Regions from separate parts of the Homo sapiens genome. Here region 1 is linked to region 2. Evidence: promoter capture Hi-C in 16 types of primary human blood cells and fetal thymus (Javierre and others, 2016). All regions are on one chromosome and are shown on one strand. The core of a region is centred on a gene start or on the middle of the fragment in contact, and the rest is flanking DNA. Distances in the headings are between cores, read along the strand shown.

Evidence for each region. Contacts are between HindIII fragments. The CHiCAGO score rates a contact against its expected background, and 5 or more counts as called.
Region 1: a fragment that was not itself captured here is called in contact with the fragment with the promoter of MYL11 in region 2 in 2 of 17 cell types (erythroblasts and fetal thymus); the score reaches 6.7 in erythroblasts.

What each region holds. Positions count from the first base shown.
Region 1 is chr16:30,594,943-30,599,012 of GRCh38, forward strand. No RefSeq gene overlaps it. Among named protein-coding and RNA genes, the nearest start is that of ZNF785, 11 kb to the left of the region's middle. The HindIII fragment of the contact is 4,017 bases long and covers 275-4,070 here.
Region 2 is chr16:30,372,743-30,376,725 of GRCh38, forward strand. It overlaps MYL11 (myosin light chain 11), which reads left to right and starts at 2,060. Exons shown (of 7, transcript NM_013292.5): 1 at 2,060-2,118; 2 at 3,078-3,170; 3 at 3,403-3,478; 4 at 3,681-3,785; 5 at 3,878-3,956. The coding sequence starts at 2,116. The HindIII fragment of the contact is 3,476 bases long and covers 1-2,842 here.

The DNA.
Region 1 (4,070 bases), core at 1,033-3,532, 220 kb after region 2:
AGAAAAGGAATGCAGCCCTGCCAACACCTTGATTGTCCCATAAGACCTATTTTCAGACTTTAGACCTGAAGAACTATAAGACGATAAATTTGTGTTGTTTTCAGCCACCAGTTTCTAGTAATTTCTTACAGTAACAAATGAACACAGATAACATTGTTGAGGAGCATTTCTGAGTTTGTCAACTACTCTATTGATGTGGGAGCACTCTCCCAGCTCTGAACTCAAGAAAGTCTAAAAAGAAGTAGGACTCAGAGACATTATGCTGAATAAAAGAAGCTTTAGACAAAAAAAAAAAAAAAAAAAAATACACACTGTATGATTCCAATTATATGAAGTTTTATAACAGGGAACACTAATTAGAATAGTAGTTGTCTCTGGTGGGGTGGGAATGGGAATTGACTAGGAAGGGGCATAAGGCAACTTTCTTTCTTTTCTTTTCTTTTTTTTTTTTTGAGACAGAATCTCACTCTGTCGCCAGGCTGGAGTACAGCGGCAGAATCTCAGCTCACTGCAATCTTTGACTCCCTGGTTCAAGCGCTTCTCCTGCCTGAGCCTCCCTAGTAGCTGGGATTATGGGCACATGCCACCATGCCCAGCTAATTTTTGTATTTTTAGTAGAGACGGGGTTTCACCATATTGGCCAGGATGGTCTCGAACTCCTGACCTCGTGATCTGCCTGCCTCAGCCTCCCAAACTACTGGGATTACAGGCATGAGCCACTGTACCCAGCCACATGAGGCAACTTTCTAGGATGATGGTAATGTTATGTATTTGGATAGGGGTTTCAGTTACAGATGTATACGTCTTTGTCAACACTCAGCAAATATACACTTAAAGTTTGTGCATTTTATGTACTTTTAACTCAAAAAATATATAAAACAAACGTGGAGCTCTAGTTAATGATATGCATGTTGAAATGTTTACGGGTGAAGTGTACTGATTTCAGCAATTTTTTTTACATGCACCCAAAAACAAAGTGTACTGGTAGAGTAACTGATAGTTACATGATAAAGCAGATACACTAAATGTTAGTGATAGAATCTAGGTGGTGAGTATATGGGTATTCTCTGTAAAAGTCCTTCAACTTTACTGTGTCTTTCAAAACTTTTAAAATGAATGGTGGCTGGGTGCAGTGGCTCACACCTGTACTCCTAGCACTTTGGGAGTCTGAGGCAGGTGGATCGCCTAAGGTCAGGAGTTTGAGACCAGCCTGGCCAACATTGTGAAACTCCATCTCTACTAAAAATACAAAAATTAGCTGGGCATGGTAGCTCATGCCTGTAATCCCAGCTACTCTGGGAGGCTGAGGCCCGAGAATCGCTTGAACCTGGGAAGTGAAGGTTGTAGTGAGCCAAGATCGCACCATTGCACTCCAGCCTGGGCAATGGAGTGAGACTTCATCTCAAAAGAAAAAAAAAAGCAAAACCACTATTGAGAATGAAAAGACACTCCACAGAATGGGAGAAAATATTTGTAAATCATGTGTCTAATAAGGGATTAATATTCAGAATTTATAAATAACTCCGGTAACTCAACAACCACTAAAAAATAAAAACCCAATTTAAAAGCAGGCAAAGAGGCTGGGCACGGTGGCTCACACTGTCATCCCAGCACTTTGGGAGGCCAAGACAGGCAGATCACTTGAGGCCAGAAATTCGAGACCAGCCTAGCCAACAGAGATGATGAAACTCCATTTCTGCTAAAAATACAAAAATTAGCCGGCATTGTGGCACAGACCTGTAATCCCAGCTACTCAGGAGGCTAAGGCATGAAAATCACTTGAGCCTGGGAGGTGGAGGGTGCAGTGAGCCAAAATGGCACCACAGCATTCCAACCTGGGCAACAGAGCAAGACACCACTCAAAAAAAGAATTAAAAAAAAAAAAGATGAAAGCAGGCATAGGATTTATATAGACATTTCTCCAAAGAAGATATACAGATGAGCTGGGCGTGGTGACTCACGCCTGTAATCCCAGCACTTTGGGAGGCTGAGGCAGGTGAATCACCTGAGATCAGGAGTTCAAGACCAGCCTGGCCAACATGGTGAAACCCCATCTCTACTAAAAATACAAAAAAAAAAAAAAATTAGCCGGGCGTGGTGGCGCACGCCTGTAATCCTAGCTACTTGGGAGGCTGAGGCAGGAGAATTGCTTGAACCTAGGAGACAGAGGTTGCAGTGAGCCGAGATCTTGCCGTTGCACTCCAGCCTGGGCAACAGAGTAAGACTCTATCTCAAAAATAATAAATGAATAAACACACAAACAAACAAATAATAAATAATTATCACTTTTTTGCATTTTCCCAATTTCTTTACTGATTATTTTTGGGATTTGGAAAAAACATAAGGCCGGGCGAGGTGGCCCACACCTGTAATCCCAGCACTCTAGGAAGCCAAGGCAGGAGGATTGCTTGAGCCCAGGAGTTCGAGACCAGCCTGGGCAACATGGAGAAACCTCATCCCTACAAAGAATACAAAAAAATTAGTTGGGTGTGGTGGCACATGCCTGTGGTCCCAACTACTCAGGAGGCTGAAGCAGGAGGATCACTTGAGCTCAGGGAAGTAGAAGCTGCAGTGAGCCATGATCACACAACTGCACTCCAGCCTGGGCCACAGAGCAAGACTCTTTCTTGCTGGGAAGGAATTCTCACATGTACGCACTAGCAGAAGCCACAAGCGGCACCAGGAAGACTAGAAGAATGCGGGGCATGAAAGCTAAGTTACAAGAGAGCTTAAGTAGGAAAACTAAGGTATGTAAGATAAAAATTGAAGCACTGATTTGTTAACTAGGTCATCAGTTATCTTAAAGGACAGTCTTAGAATAATTGCATGGCAGCTGACTTTACAGTCACCCAGATATGTGATCCTGGACAAGTTATTTATTTTTTTTTAAATTTTTTGAGATGGAGTTTTGCTCTTGTTGCCCAGGCTGGAGTGCAATGGCGCAATCTCGGCTCATTGCAACCTTTGCCTCCCGGGTTCAAGTGATTCTCCTGCCTCAGCCTCCCAAGTAGTTGAGATTACAGGCATGTGCCACCATGCCTGGCTATGTTTTTGCATTTAGTAGAGACGGGATTTCACCATGTTGGTCAGACCGGTCTCGAACTCCTGACCTCAGGTGATCCACCCGCCTCGGCCTCCCAAAGTGCTGGGATTATAGGCGTGCACCCTGTGCCCGGTCGACAAGCTATTTAATGTCACTGTGCCTCTGTTTCCTCATCTGGTCAAGGAAAACAATACCTACAGTCAGATCTGGAATTTGAGGCTGCCCTACTTATAGGTTAATAAATGGGTCTGTTATTGTTTCATGGATGCTGTCAGAAAACAGAGACAAAAGACCTTACTGTTCAGGGCACAACAAGCAGCATGAGCATGCCTGCATTGGTTCCCTTCTGCCCCCTGCAGGGGCAATGTGGGATGTGCCCAGATGGATGCTAGACACACAGTGAGTTGCATCATAGGGGAGGAACAGGAAGCTCCTGCTGTTTTTTTCCTTTTTAAAGATGGGATTTGGCTGGGAGCGGTGGCTCACGCCTGTAATCCCAGCACTTTGGGAGGCCAAGGCAGGCAGATCACCTGAGGTCAGGAGTTCGAGACCAGCCTGACCAACATGGTGAAACCCTGTCTCTACAAAAATACTAAAATTAGCTGGGCATGGTGGCAGGTGAGTGTAATCCCAGCTACTTGGGAGGCTGAGGCAGGAAAGTTGCTTGAACCCAGGAGGTGGAGGTTGCAGTGAGCCAAGATCACGCCACTGCACTCCAGCCTGGGTGACAAGAGTGAGACTCCTTCTCTAAATAAATACATAAATAAATAAGATGGGGTCTTGCTATGTTGGCCAGGGTAGTCTCAAACTCCTGGCCTCAAGCAATCCTCCTGCCTTGGCCACCAAAAGTTCTGGGATTACAGTTGTGAGCCACCATGCCCAGCCATCTGCTGTTTTATAGTAAGCAGTAAGGAAGCTGCTCTTTGTCCTGGATGCAGACATTACCTCTCCCTCAAGGTTTGCTTGCTGCCAACACTCCTGAGAATTGTTCTGGGTAATGAGTGGCAAGGGCTTTGCTTATTTATTT
Region 2 (3,983 bases), core at 810-3,309:
TCCTTCTTCTGCATGAAACCTTTCCAAGGTTCCCCAGGGTCTCCGTCCTGTGCCTGGCAAAGGCCCCTCAGGGGCTGGTCACCAGCCCCATCACAATTCTGGCCACCTGAACACTTCTGATCTTCCGCTCTCCAGGCCTTTGCTCAGGCCATGCCCTCCGCCCAGCACATCTGCTCCTCCACCTGCACCTGACTCCCTGGCCCTCGTGAAGCCACTCCCATACTCCTAGACAGGGCTGCTGCGCCCTCCACTTCTGGGCTCCTGACCAGCTCTGGTATGTCAGTTTCTGCATTCATTCCTGTCTCTATTAGTTATAAGGCAAGTTCTGTGGGATGGGAACTACATCTCCCTTTTACAGAGGGGAAACCAAGGCCCAGCACAAAACCTGAGACCACAAAGCATCTTGCCTCAAAAAATCCCTCTTGGCTCGGCGCGGTGGCTCATGCCTGTAATCCCAGCACTTTGAGCACTTTGGGAGGTCGAGACGGGTGGATCATCTGAAGTCGGAATTCAAGACCAGCCTGGCCAACATGGTGAAACGCCATCTCTACTAAAAATACAAAAAATTAGATGCCGGGCACGGTGGCTCACGCCTGTAATCCCAGCACTTTGGGAGGCCGAGGCAGGCAGATCACAAGGTCAGGAGATCGAGATCATCCTGGCTAACGCGGGGAAACCCCGTCTCTACTAAAAATACAAAAAAATTAGGCGGGCGTGGTGACACGCGCCTGTAGTCCCAGCTACTCGGGAGGCTGAAGCAGGAGAATCACTTGAACCCGGGAGGCGGAGGTTACAGTGAGCCAAGATCACGCCACTGCACTCCAGCCCGGATAACAAAACGAGACTTCATCTCAAAAAAAAAAAAAAAAAGTAGCTGGGCATGGTGGCGGGTGCCTGGAATCCCAGCTACTCAGGAGGCTGAGGCAGAAGTATCGCTTGAACCCAGAAGGCGGAGGTTGCAGTAAGCCGAGATCGCACCATTGCACTCCCACCTGGGTGACAAGAGCAAGACTCCATCTCAAAAAAAAAAAAAAAGAAAGAAAAGAAAAAAAAATTCCCCTCTCCTTGAAGGGAGGTAGGAGACCCACCTGATCCCTCAGCTTCCACAGATGGCTCTTTCTCACCACCCTCACACTTACACACACTTGACTATGAACTCCACCATGTGGGGGTGGAGGGATTGTGTCTGCCAAAGTACATCCACAAAGCCCAGCCTAGCACGTGGCACACTGTGTGTGTTCAATACATGTTTACTGGGTTTATTTTATTAATTTAAAATAGAGACGGGGGCCAGGCGCAGTGGCTCACACCTGTAATCCCAGCACTTTGGGAGGCCTAGGTGGATGGATCACCAGGTCAGAAGATTGAGACCACTCTGGCCGACACGGTGAAACCCTGTCTCTACTAAAAATACAGAAAAAAAAAATTAGCCTGGCTTCGTGGCACACCTATAATCCCAGCTACTCGGGAGGCCAAGATAGGAGAATCACTTGAACAGGGGAGGTGGAGGTTGCAGTGAACCGAGATCACACTACTGGCACTCTAGCCTGGGAGACAGAGCGAGACTGTCTAAAAAAAAAAAAAAGGGAGACAGGGGTCTCACTATGTTGCCCAGGCTGGTCCTGAACTCCTGGCCTCAAGCAATCCTCCTGCCTCAGCTTCCCAAAGTGCTGGGATTACAGGTGTGAACCACTGCACCCAGACGTTTACTGGGTTTAAATCTGAGCCCACCCCACTCAGGGGTACAGGATCTGGTTCATTTATCTCCCAGAATGATGCCTTGGGTTGCGTCCCCTCTAAACTCTGGCACATTCCAGCCCCTCTTTGGGAGAAAGAACATCTCTTCTTGCCCAGGCCCTAGTGAGACATGCATCGCAAGACATGCTCCCCCCTTCCTCCCCGCTGGGCTCCAGCTGCTGCCAGCCCTCCAAGAAAGGAGAGGCCCTGAGTTGGGCTATTTTGGTATCTGGGGTGGGCACCCGCAGGGCTAAGGTTACCTTGGTATGTTAAGGGCTCCCTGGGGCAGGACTATATAACCCCAGAGGGACTGCCCCATGCTGACTCCTTGCTTCTTTCCAGCCGGAGCCGCTGCCTTGCCCCCCGGAGACTGAAGACATGGTGAGTGAGAATCCTCCAACCCCTGCCCAGATCCCTTAGACCTCAGGGCAGCCTCACCCTTTGAAAGAAAGTAGCTGGTTCCCAGTCCAACAAAAAGTTAAAAGGATGCTCATCTCTTTCTCGGCATCACTGATGGAAAACAGACTGTGTGATGGCCTAAAGGATCCAATCAATGATAATCCGCCCAGACATTCAACTCACAGGGGCCCAGTCCCTCTCAAAGCCTGATCCATTCATTCCTGTACTCCATCTTCCTAAGGCCCTCTGGCACCAGCCAGGCAATAACTCCCATCCCATTTTACAAATGAGAAAGTAGAGGCTCAGGCCAGGTGCTGTGGTTCACGCCTGTAATCCCAGCACTTTGGGAGGCCAAGGTGGTTGGATCACTTGAAGCCAGGAGTTCGAGACCAGCCTGGCCAACAGGCGAAACCCCGTCTCTACTAAAAATACAAAAATTAACTGGGCGTGGTGGTGCATGCCTGTAATCCCAGCTACTACGGAGGCTGGGGCATAAGAATCGCTTGAACCCGGGAGGCAGAGGTTGCGGTAAGCCGAGATCGCAGCACCGCACTCCAGCCTGGGTGACAGAGCAAGACTCTGTCTCAAAAAAAAAAAAAAAAAGAAAAGAAAAGTAGAGGCTCAAACAGGGCAAATGAGTGGCTGGGGTCACACAGCAAGTCTGAGGCTCAGAGGAGCTAGGCTCAGGACACTGAGAAGATAAGGAAGCTTCCACCCATTGTGGGGGATGGAGAGTTGGAGACCCAGGAGCCACAGACGGGAATTTGGGGAATGCAATCAAAGCAAGCCCCCTCAGCAAAGAGGTCCCAAGGAAGGGGAGACTCAGGCCAAAGGGCTGCTTTAGGAACAGGGACTCGAAGAATTCTGACTCTTAATCCATTGCCCCCAGAGAGGTGGAGGGACTGGTCCATGGGCCCCTTTGTTCAACCCTCACCCTCCAGGCACCCAAGAGGGCCAAGAGAAGGACAGTAGAGGGCGGAAGCTCCAGCGTCTTCTCCATGTTCGACCAGACTCAGATCCAGGAGTTCAAAGAGGTGGGTGAGGGGACGGGGAAACTGGAAGGCTGACCAAAAGCAGCCCTGCTGGCCCTCTCCCTGGAATGTGCACCTGCTTGAAGGAGGGGAAAGGTTTAGAATTCCTTCCTCCCCTCTCTGCTTGGGGTGGAAGAGGACAGTTGGCTGAGAGCCAGCATCTGATCCTCCTGGGGTAGGGATGCTGAGGCTGGGCCATGGGGGACCTAACCCTCCCCACCACGGCCCTCCCCAGGCCTTCACTGTGATCGACCAGAACCGTGATGGTATTATAGACAAGGAGGACCTTCGGGACACCTTCGCAGCCATGGGTGAGCCCCCTACCCCCAGGTGGGAATATTCAAGGCTGCAGAGTCTAGGAAATTCAGTGGCCTTGGGTTCCAGCCCTGTCAGCTCCACCTTGGGCCTCAGTCTACCCAGCTGAAAAATGAATGGGATCAGCTGAATTAGTGGGAAGCGCAGGCCCGGCCCCAGGAGCCTGCTCCAGCCCATGCTTCCCCCAACCCCCTCCAGGCCGCCTCAATGTGAAGAATGAGGAGTTGGATGCCATGATGAAGGAAGCCAGCGGTCCCATCAACTTCACCGTCTTCCTGACCATGTTCGGGGAGAAGCTCAAGGGTGAGTGGAGTGTCCTGGGTCCAAGGCCCCGGCTGCCTTTTCCCAGACCCTTCAGGGACCCATCAGCTTCATGTGCCCTCTGACCCCCACAGGTGCCGACCCTGAGGATGTGATCACCGGAGCCTTCAAGGTCTTGGACCCTGAGGGAAAGGGCACCATCAAGAAGAAGTTGTAAGCATCGGCTCCCCCACCCTTCCG